4 separate regions of the Homo sapiens genome follow, and regions 1, 2 and 3 are each linked to region 4. The links are contacts of gene promoters, found by promoter capture Hi-C in blood cells and fetal thymus (Javierre and others, 2016). All regions are on one chromosome and are shown on one strand. The core of a region is centred on a gene start or on the middle of the fragment in contact, and the rest is flanking DNA. Distances in the headings are between cores, read along the strand shown.

Region 1 (2,905 bases), core at 74-2,573, 260 kb before region 4:
TGGCTACCATTTACGAACATGATTCTCAAACATCTCAACGGAGGTTTTGGTTAAAACATAGAGAAACCAAATAGGAAACTCAAATGCTGATGTTACTCAGTGGGAAGACTGAGGAGACACAGAGACCTGGGTTTTTACCAGCATCACGACACAATTCTCATACAAGTAGTCTTTAATACAGTTAGAGAAATATCACTACTTTAGAACTTACTCTCTATCTGGCTTTGGATAAGTAATGTTCTCACCTTGAAATGGGTTTAATATTATTACCTTGCTCATAAGTTAATTGTGAAGCTCATTTAATATGATTATATAAAGTATCGATCAGAATACCAAGTATGTAATACATACTCAATAAATATGTGTTACTCTTAAAGCTTTGTGCGCTAACACTGAAAGACACTTGAATCTTTATCTTTTTTCTAGCCTATCAATAATTAAGCAGATTTGGAGGGCTTAGGAAAAATAATAGAAATACCTCAAATTTTACTTGTTACTTCAAATGTCTGGAGATCTTGGATTTGGGTGATGGTATCAGTATGTTTTTTATTTTGAATTGTCTATTTAGAGAAACTAAATAGGAACCAATAATTCAGAAAACTGTACAAAATTAGCAACTCAACTTTGTTTCATCTCCCTAAAATGGAAAAACATATGTGTATACATCCCTATAGCACACATAAACTTAGAAGAATAATATCTTAGTGCATGGCAACAATACAATTAAAAATGTAGGCCAATCACTGTGATTCTTTTTCTGGTATTCATATCTAAAGTATCTTATACATAAAATCAAAATAGCACAAACGTTAGTAGCACAGATCAGACCACCTCATTTCAAATACTAAATCTTCTACATGTCATCTAAGTGAACTCCAGCAAAATTTGACTTCTGTCTTCTTCAATTTAAAACTAACTTACAGGCATGCCTCGGAAATATTGTGGGTTCAGTTCCAGACCACCACAATAAAGCAATTATTGCAATAAAGTGAGTCACATTAATTATTTGCTTTCCCAATTCGTGTAAAAGTTATGTTTGAGCTACAACGTCTTCTATTAAGTATACAACAGCATTATGTCTGGAAAATGTACATAGTTTTATTAAAAATAGTTTATTGCTAAAAATGCTGATTATTTGAGTCTTTAGTGAGTGAAAATCTTTTTGCTGGTGTAGCGTCTTGCCTTGATGTTGATGGCTGCTGATGGATCACAGCAGTGGTTGCTGAAGGATGGGGTAGATGTGGCTATTTTTAAAATAAGACAATGGTGAAGTTTGTAGCATCAATTTAGTCTTCCTTTTATGAAATTTTTATCTGTAGAATGCGATGCTGTTAAATAGCATTTTACTCATCGTAAACTTCTTTCAAAATTGAAGTCAGTCCTCTCAAATCCTGCTACTGCTTTATCAACTAAGTTTATGCAATATTCAGAATACTTTATTAGCATTTCAACAATGTTCACAGCATGTTCACCAGGAATAATATTTGTCTCAAGAACCATTTTCTTTGCTCATCCATAAAAAGCAACTCCTCATTTGTTAAAGTTTCCTGATAAAATTGCATCAATTCAGCCACATCTTCAGGCTCCACTTCCAGTTCTAGTTCTCTTGCTATTTCCACCACATCTGCAGTTACTTCCACCACTGAAGTCTTGAACGCCTGCAAGTTATCCATGAGGGTTTGATTCAACTTCTTCCAAGTGTCTGTTAATGTTGACACTTTGTCTTCCTTCCATGAATCACAAATCTTTTTAATGGCATCTAGAATGGTAAGTTGTCTCCAGGTGGTTTTCAATTTACTTTGCTCTGATATATAAGAAGAATCAGTATCTGTGGGAGTTATAGCCTTATGATGTGTATTTCTTAAAGAATAAAACTTGAAAGTCAAAATTACTCCTTGATTTGTTGGTTGCAGAAAAGGATGCTGTGTTAGCAGGACTGAAAACATTAACCTCCCGGTACATGTCTATAAGAGCTCTTGGGTGACTAGGTGCATTGTCAATGAGCTGTAATATTTTGAAAAAAAGACCTTTTTTTTTTCTGAGCAGTGTTTCTCAACAATGGGCTTAAAATACTCAGTAAACAATGCTATAAACAAATGTGCTTTCATCTAGACGTCATTGTTTCATTCATAGAGCATTGGCAGGTACATTTAGCATAATTATTAAGGTCCCTAGGACGTTTGAAATGATAAAAGACTACTGGCTTTAACTTAAAGTCATCAGCTGCATTAGTCCCTAACAAGAGAGTCAGCTTGTCCTTTGAAGCTTTCAAGCCAGCCATTGACTTTTCCTCTCTAGGTATAAAAATCCTAGATGACATGTCTTTCCAATACAAAGCTGTTTCATCTAGACACCTTCAGCTATCTTAGCTATATCTTCTGGATAACTTGCTCCAGTTTCTACATCACAACTTGCTGCTTCATCTTTCATTTTTATGTTAGAGAGAAGGCTTCTTTCCTTAAACCTGATGAACCAACCTCTGCTAGCTTCCAACATTTCTTCTGTAGCTTCTTCACCTCTCTCACCCATCACAGAATTGACAAGAGTTAGGGCCTTGCTCTGGATTAGGCTTTGACTTAAGAGAACGTTGTGATTGGTTTCGTCTTGTATCCAGACCACCAAACTTTCTCCATATCAGCAATAAGGCTATCTTGTTTTCTTACTATTTGTGTGTTCATTGGAGCAGCACTTGTAATTTCTTTTTTTTTATTATTATACTTTAAGTTTTAGGGTACATGTGCACAACGTGCAGGTTAGTTACATATTTATACATGTGCCATGTTGGTGTGCTGCACCCATTAACTCGTCATTTAACATTAGGTGTATCTCCTAATGCTATCCCTCCCCCCTCCCCCCATCCCACAACAGGCCCCGGTGTGTGATGTTCCCCTTCCTGTGTCCAGGT
Region 2 (2,729 bases), core at 138-2,637, 270 kb before region 4:
AATCTATGCTTATGTTTACTATTCTAGTTGAATTCAGAAAAGGCAGAGACCATTGACATGAGGACCAGTTTAAATAGATGATTACAAAAATAAGAAATTAAGAATGGTTTTCTATCTCTGTTCTGGTCCGTGTCCGGAGTTGGTTCCTGCCGGTGGGTTCCTGGTCTCGCTGACTTCAAAAATGAAGCCGCGGACCTTTGCGGTGAGGGTTACACCTCTTAAAGATGGCACGGACCCAAAGACTGAGTGGTAGCAAGGTTTATTGTGAAGAGCAGGATGACAAACCTTCCACAGCATGGAAGGGGTCCCAAGCGGGTTGCTGCTGCTGGCTGGGGTGGCTAGCTTTTATTTCCTTACTGTCCCCTCCATGTTCCGTTTCTGTCGTATCAGACTGACCTTTTTTCAATCCTCACCGCAATTGGCTACTTTTAGAATCCTGCTGATTGGTGCGTTTTACAGAGCGCTGATCGGTGCGTTTTACGTGGCACTGATTGGTGCGTTTTACAATCCTCTTGTAAGACAGGAAAGTTCCCTGAGTCCCCACTCGATTCAGGAAGTCTGGCTGGCCTCACGTCTCATGACTTTCACCAGATTTTGCAAAAACTGGGTTTTCATCCTCATTTCCTTAATTCTTTCACATACCTTAAAGCTTCCTAACAAAGTATTAACTTCTCACTATCCATGAAATGATGCTTAGCTTGAACAATGATGAAGAATGTCACCTGATTCCTAATTATTTCTAAGAGAAGATTGATAACACTTCTCACATACTTTCTATTATTATGATCCAAAAAGCTATATCATCTATCATTATTAGTGTATGATCATATTAATTTAGACATTTCTTTATATACTTTTCTCCCTTAAAAACTTACAGCATTTCTGTAGCTTATTTTATCAGTTACACTATTTAAAAACTCACTTTGTTGCAGTCATTTACCAAATTCTCCTTATTTCTTCATTATTTTTTCAACTATCTTAAATCTTATTGATCTCTACTCCTATCATGATTATCATGTGATTTCGACATTCAGGTAGGTGATAATTCCAATACTATGGGCTCTCAGTTCTTGAATTTGCCTCCAATAACCTTACCCACACTCAGAAATCAGTTGCTCACACACAAAAATCAGTCACCCACTAGATGATCCTAGTTTAGAGCTAGGCTATTCACCGTAGTAATCACTAGGCATATAATTGCTATTTAAACTTAAATTAATTAAAATTAAATTAAATTTAAAATTTATTTCCTAGGTCACACTAGTCATACTTCAGGTACTTAACAGCCACAGGTGGCATTGGCTATGCAATTGGACAGTGCAGGTAAATAACATTTCCATTATTAGCAACGTGGCTATTGAACAGCACTGCACTAGAGTGCAGACAATTTCATTTCCAATATGAGAAATTCTTCCATGATCTGTTTCAGATATTTCACTCTCTGACCTCCACCTCCTATGTTTCCAGCCCACTCTCTCTGGGTATTCTACACTCTACAGCATTTCAGTGCCCACTGAGATAGCAACTTCACTGACCATGCCAACTTCTCATTGTTGTCAATCCCTCATGTCTCATTTCCTATTATACCCAGCATGCACCACTTACCAGGGCCAATTATAAAAATCGTTTTCTTACCCACAGCTACAACTTCCTTGCTTACCTCTTCATTCATCATAAGCATCTAGAAAATGCAGCTTGTTTAAATCCAACCCTACCTACTCTGTGCATACATTCAAGTAGCTGAATGTGATCATATTAACTGGTTTTATCTTACGTTTTTGAAATGTAACTTCTCAGCACTCTTACTAATCAATCTGTTCTGCAAATCTCCTAAAAGATTATTCCCAATCTCTTTTTCTTTCTCAGACTCTCAAATTTCTTTCTGTCTTCTCTTTCTACAAACTAAACGGATAACCTGGCTTTTCCATTAACATTATCTTAAGAAAAAAAAGAAATTCAGAAAGAAGTTTTCTCTGTTTCACTAGTCAAATATACCAAAACAGCTACATCAGTATATGAGGTAGTATTCTTTTCAACAGTGGTTGAATTGTACTACTCATCTAAGATCAATCTCCATCTGTATATTAAAATCCATCCACCTATCTCCTTAAAGATTTCAAGCTTGTAATTTTCCTTCTTTTTCTCTTTCTATCAATTTTTCCATTTTTTTCATCTCTACTTGTTCACTTATGTTCACTTCCAAAGATGATATAATATCTCCTATATTAAAACAAGCAGAAGCCATCTTTTGTTCACCGTAACACCATACACATGATCACTCCATTTCTCTAATTTTCTTAACAACAAATGGGTTCAAAAATTTCTCTATGATCTTCCCAAACCTATTCTAATTAGGCTTTTTCCTTCACTATTTCTTTTTTTTCTTTTTTTATTTTTATTCTTTCTTTTTTTTTATTGAGACAGAGTCTAGCTCTGTTGCCCAGGCTGGAGTGCAGTGGCGCGATCTCGGCTCACTGCAAGCTCCGCCTCCCAGGTTCATGCCATTCCCCTGCCTCAGCCTCCAGAGTAACTGGGACTACAGGCGCCTGCCACCCCGCCCGGCTAATTTTTTGTATTTTTAGTAGAGACGGGGTTTCACCGTGTTAGCCAGGATGGTCTCGATCTCCTGACCTCGTGATCTGTCCCCCTCGGCCTCCCAAAGTGCTGAGATTACAGGCGTGAGCCACCACGCCTGGCCCTTCTTTCACTATTTCTAAAAAACACTCCTG
Region 3 (2,981 bases), core at 398-2,897, 290 kb before region 4:
CAAAGGAGAAGCAAAGTCATGTCTTGCATGGTGGCAGGGGAACTCTCCTTTGTAAAACCATCAGAACTCATGAGACTTATTCACTATCAGGAGAACAGCACAGAAAAAACTCGCCCCCATGATTCTATTACCTCTCACCAGGTCCTTCCCATGACACGTGGAGATTCTGGGAGCTATAATTCAAGATGAGATTTGGATGGGGACACAGCCAAACCATATCAGCTATGCGAATCTATAATTTTCTCTTTTTAAATTTTTTATTTACTTTAAGTCCTGGGATACATGTGCAGAACCTGCAGGTTTGTTACATAGGTATACATGTGCCATGGTGGTTTGCTGCACCTATCAACCTGTCATCTAGGTTTTAAGCCCCGCATGCATTAGGTATTTGTCCTAATGCTCTCCCTCCCCTTGCCCCTCATCCCCTCAACAGGCCCCAGTGTGTGATGTTCCCCTCCCTGTGTCCATGTATTCTCATTGTTCAACTCCCACTTATGAGTGAGAATATGCAGTGTTTGCTTTTCAGTTCCTGTGTTAGTTTGCTGAGAATGATAGTTTCCAGCTTCGTCCATGTCCCTGCAAAGGACATGAACTTATTCTTTTTTATGGCTGCATAGTATTCCATGGTGTATATGTGCCACATTTTCTTTACCCAGTCTACCATTGGTGGACATTTGGGTTGGTTCCAAAGTTTTGCTATTGTAAATAGTGCTGCAATAATTTTCTCTTAAAGTCTGCTTTCTCTTCTAGCAAAAGAGCCAGAGGAAAAGCTATACTTATACTTCACCAGCCTCCAAAATTCCCAAAGTTAAGACACAGACTTAAGGACTGCCATAAGCTACATTTCTGTCAACTGAATTATAATCCTATTGTCTTCTAACAGGAATATAGGAAAGAAATAAAGATAAATGTTAATTCTGTAACATAGTCATGTAAACATAGCCTGCAACATATACAACTTTCTTTTGCTCCTATGATAAATTCAAATGTGCAATATACCACAAATGGGGGCCTAGATCTGAGGAATCAAGCTTTCATAGAGCAATAAAAGCGTTTATTTTGTTCATTTCTAACTAACAACCTAAAATATAAAGTTCTTAGAAACAAATAGTTTAAATTAATAAAATGAATATGCCACATTTTATTTTTATTCTATTCACATGTCAATGGACATTGAGGTTGCTTTCGTGTGTTGGCTATTGTGTACAGTGCTGCAATAAACATAGGAGTTCAGGCATCTCTTTGAAATTGCAATTTCAATTTCTTTGGATATATACCCAGTCATGGGATTGCTAGGTCATATGGTACATGCCATGGAATATTATTTAGCCTTAAAAAAGAAAGAAATCCTGCCATTGCAGCAACATGAATAAATACGGAGGATGTTATGCTAAGTGAAACAAGCCAGATACAGAAGGACAAATGCTGCATGATACCATTTATATGAGGAACTTCAAATAACCAAACTCATAGAAGCAGATAGTAGAATGGTGGTTGCCAGGGGTTACAGGAGAGGGAAATGAGGAGGTATTAGCCAAAGGGTAGAAAGTTCAGTTACACAAGATGAATAAGTCCTACAGATCTACTGTACAGCGTAGTGCCTATAGACAACAATACTATATTGTATATTTAGAATTTTCTAAGAGTGTAAATCTTACGTTGTGTTTTTATCACACAAAAATATTAACAATAAAGAGGGTGGGAGGACTTTTCAAGATAATGCCTATGTTTATGGTATACATTGTGGTGATGGTTTATTCATGTGTGTATACTTATCTACAAATATTAAGTTGCATATATTACGTATGTACAGCTTTTACATGTCAATTATACCCAATAAAGTGGTTTTTAAAGAAGAAATGTTTATGAATGAGGCAGGCAAGTAGGGATGGCATGCCTAGTGGCTTCAAATCAGTCAACATCAGACCAGCAACAGGGGCTATGGGGGGAGATAGCAATACATAAGGCAAGAAAATTGCTGAGGACGGATTTAATTAGGAAAAGTAATAAAATGTATACTTAAAACAAGATGACACCTGGGGTGGGGTCACCATTTATGGGAAGTGTCATTGCATACCATCTTCTGTGTTCTGATAGCATGCTGAAATCTATTATTTATTATATATAATAAATCTATATTCTGTTGCATTGCATTGTCTCACAGCTATGATTCTGTGAAAAGATAATAGGGCTCTGGCATGTATTGGACCTGGTTCAGAACCTAACTTCACCCTTTCCGGCTGTAAAACCTTAGCCAAGCTTTGTTCTAAATCAAGCTTTAGTTTCCACATGTATGGAATGATCTCAGATGAGATCACATATTGAATTTGTCAAGTTCCTGCCATGTTAGGGCCATCTTAAAAATTGTAGGCCCCTTTGCCCCTAGCTTTGAGCTTATTGTGGTTAAGGGTCCTGTCATGCTGATCTTCATATCTATCCCAAGGGTTTGCATATCGACTAGCACTTGGTTGACACACACACAAAATCTATTGTTAAATAAGTGAATAATTTGCAGCTGCCAGTCGCACCTGTCGAAATATCAGTTGTGCATTTGGTAGACCCAGATAAAGAGAGACCAGAAATCTGGTTTTCAGTCCAATTCACCTTCCTGGGACTCATTTCCCACCCTCCTTGATGCATTTTTTGGCTCTGTAAGTTTTGAGAGGTATTCCTTCCCAACTTGTCCTATTTAGACACAAAAGAGCTTCAAAATAAAGACAGAAACAATCAAATACTGTCTTCTTGCACTGGAAATTGAAGGTCAGTACTTGAAGAACAAGAGAGAATGGAGCCCCCTAGAAATTACTCTACTCAAAATACAACTTACAGATCATATGGGCTGGACAAGATTGGTGAAGCCAACATCAATTCACCCATAGAGAGTAATTTTTCTCAGAAACAAATTCTGTCTAGAAACAAAGAAAGCTGGAGAACTGAAAATAATGGCCTTGGTAACTATAACAGTAACAATTAGTGTTTCC
Region 4 (2,820 bases), core at 118-2,617:
AAAAAAATTATTGGTTATGCAACCACCTGCAGATAATAAAACCTCTAAAAGTCAGTTTTTCATGTATGTAGTAGGTATTGTCTAGTCACATACAAACAGTTGGAACAGCCCAGAAAAGGGAGAGAGTGTCATGCAGTCTTAAGAGACAGAGGTCGGTGCTCAAGCCTCATCCAGGGTCAGAAGTTGGTCTTTATAGGAGGGATCCCTAAATGCCACAAAGCCAGGATCTGTTCTCTAGTTATTTAATTAACCTAAGTTAAATTTCTTGGATGAGGGGTAGGGATGGGGTGACTGCAGTTTAGATTAATTCTGCAGAATGCACTTGAGTGGGTATTGAAAAAACCAGTTTTTCCATATGCAGATTTCCAGTTAATCTACTAGTCATAAGCTAATGGATCCTGCCATTTTTCATATCTGACATTTCTATGTCCTATGACGGTTTCACAGGTAGCTAGGCTCTCCTCCATTATTTCCCTCTGTATGGTGTTGGCTGCATTTTTCTCTGATTTTACTTCTTCATCAATGATCACATCTCCATCTACTCTCCATTTTCCAGGAATTAGTTGAAATTTTTCATCAACTAATAGGACCCTGAGCCTTTGTGTTATTGTTTTAGACTAACAAATTTTTATTCACTTAATTCAATTTTAGTGGAATTTTAGAAGAAATAGGAGATAAAATCTATGTTTGCTATGTTGTATTCGATAGTAAATTTCTGAACACCTCATTTTAAAATTAGATTTTTTTCTTTTATGTCATTACCTTGAATTATTTTAACAGAGTTATTTCTGTTTCTTAAATATATATTTTTTAGTTCAGAAGTCCTCTGCATAATTCATGTTTTACCTCAGTTTAATGTTAATATTATAAAGCATACAGGAAAGCAAATAGCTTTCAGAATTTTTAAGGTATTATCTAGACAATACAATGCATTTAGAGAGGAGGATAAAAGACATAGGGCCCCTTTCTGTAACTTTCGTAATAAAATCCCTTCTTTTTCTTGTTCTGTTTCCCAAATAGCTATCCTACTTTGGAGAAGATGCTGGAAATTCAGAGTTTCCGCCAGAGAATATATGCCTGAACTAAAAGAGGAAGTGGTCTATAGGAGAAAATGGTGAGATATCTTCTGTGGTATTAATAAAAGTTAAAAGCATTTCAAGTTTAGGCAGAAAACTAACTGAAAAACGAGAACCTACTGTATGGTTAGTAATTTCTTCCATGTCATACAAGTATTCGAGAAATCTGCTACCTTGATTAGTAAGACTGAACACATTGGTTTTGTCATTTATTCATGGAGGAAGTCCACCACCCACTTGGGGAGCAGAAGGAAATTTGCCATCTCAATTTACTTATCAGAAGTTTCTTTGCAGAAATATGATTGTCCCTTCAGTGGGACATCATTTGTGGTCTTCTCTCTCTTTTTGATCTGTGCAATGGCTGGAGATGTAGTCTACGCTGACATCAAAACTGTTCGGACTTCCCCGTTAGAACTCGCGTTTCCACTTCAGAGATCTGGTAAGCTGGATTTAGGGTGCCTTTGAGAATTAAGATTTTACTAGTTATCTCCTTTATTTCTTTCTTATGTATCTAATTGCCAAACTGAAAAGAGGAGATTGGATTCAAAGCAAAATTCATTGAATGCTAAGAATAAGAGCGAATGTTTTTAATGAAGCAAAATGTCTGTTCATAAAATAAATTGCCACTTTGGTTTTAATATGTAGAACTTTGCTTCTGTTTTCATAGCCTTTCTATTTCTTGATTTCTCGTGATGAATGTTTATATTCACACAGCAACTTCTAGCGGGATCACGCCTTTCTGCTCCACAGCTTTGCTCACTCTCAATCAAATCTGACCTTTTAACATAATGTGATAAATTCATCTCCACTGGGAAAAATACCTGTGGCAATTTACTCATATTGTTATTTATTCTTTTACAATATCAATAGGATAAAAATGTAAACTTAAGAAAACATGAAACGTTAGATTTAATTTTATAAAGTCTAGAATTAATGACTAGGTAATTGAATATTTCTGGAATCAGAGGCGATAAGCATATGCCTAAACTTAACATGGTGCCTTCATCACCAAACCCCCTCAAAAATTATAGATTTTCATAGCCAGTGTCTTTTCTATTCTTTGAAGTATTAAGGAAATTTCTCTGTCTTGTTACATTTCCATTCTCTGCTCTAGGGTAAGAATTTTTGTAGCATAGAGTTTATGTAGGTGTTTTAAATAATTTAAAGTTCCTCCTTTGTATTTGCCCTTGTGGAATGAATCTGCTACTTTGTTCGTATTTCCAAGGAATGTATTTCTTCTTTATATTTTCAAAAGTTTATAGTTATCAAAGGAATCTAGTGTGTGTCCTTTTCTGGTTGTAAAAGCATCTTGTTTCTTATTTTAAACCTTACCTCTCTATTTTACCCAGCAGAGGCTAACTTGCTTTCTTTTCTTCCAGCTTAGGCACTTTCACTTCCTATGAAATAGTGAAACATAATTTGAAAAATAACATGGACTAGAACTGCACTGTCATTCCCCTATGCTTCAAAAATGTCCTGTAGTTAGTTTCTTTTTCTAGAGGTTATTTTACTCAGTTTAAGCAACAAAACCAATATTTTTGATTCCGCATTCCAGGGTTTAATTGCCTTTCTGTCTATGGTTTGAACTTTTATAAATAAAACCTTATTCTTTTCCCAGTTTAGGGATGTGGGGCAACATCTTTTAATGTGATCTAGTTCAATCTTAGAATGCTAAAAATGAGAAAACGAACTATATGAAGATTAAATTACCTACCTATAGTCATGCTTATGACCAGAAGTCAAA

Evidence for each region. Contacts are between HindIII fragments. The CHiCAGO score rates a contact against its expected background, and 5 or more counts as called.
Region 1: a contact is called between a fragment that was not itself captured here and the fragment with the promoter of CLECL1 in region 4, in 1 of 17 cell types (monocytes). The highest score is 5.0, in monocytes.
Region 2: a fragment that was not itself captured here is called in contact with the fragment with the promoter of CLECL1 in region 4 in 2 of 17 cell types (M1 macrophages and M2 macrophages); the score reaches 5.7 in M1 macrophages.
Region 3: a contact is called between a fragment that was not itself captured here and the fragment with the promoter of CLECL1 in region 4, in 3 of 17 cell types (megakaryocytes, M2 macrophages and M0 macrophages). The highest score is 6.7, in megakaryocytes.

Annotation. Positions count from the first base shown.
Region 1 is chr12:9,989,170-9,992,074 of GRCh38, reverse strand. It overlaps a transcript of CLEC12A not described here. Among named protein-coding and RNA genes, the nearest start is that of CLEC1B, 8.5 kb to the left of the region's middle. The HindIII fragment of the contact is 1,888 bases long and covers 380-2,267 here.
Region 2 is chr12:10,006,743-10,009,471 of GRCh38, reverse strand. It overlaps a transcript of CLEC12B not described here. Among named protein-coding and RNA genes, the nearest start is that of CLEC12B, 2.5 kb to the left of the region's middle. The HindIII fragment of the contact is 1,472 bases long and covers 652-2,123 here.
Region 3 is chr12:10,023,973-10,026,953 of GRCh38, reverse strand. The region is part of intron 2 of LOC102724020 (a long non-coding RNA gene); the gene reads left to right. Among named protein-coding and RNA genes, the nearest start is that of CLEC9A, 5.2 kb to the left of the region's middle. The HindIII fragment of the contact is 1,228 bases long and covers 1,034-2,261 here.
Region 4 is chr12:9,731,644-9,734,463 of GRCh38, reverse strand. CLECL1 (C-type lectin like 1) reads left to right here and starts at 1,367. Exons shown (of 2, transcript NM_001441815.1): 1 at 1,367-1,515. The coding sequence starts at 1,434. The HindIII fragment of the contact is 6,540 bases long and covers 1-2,820 here.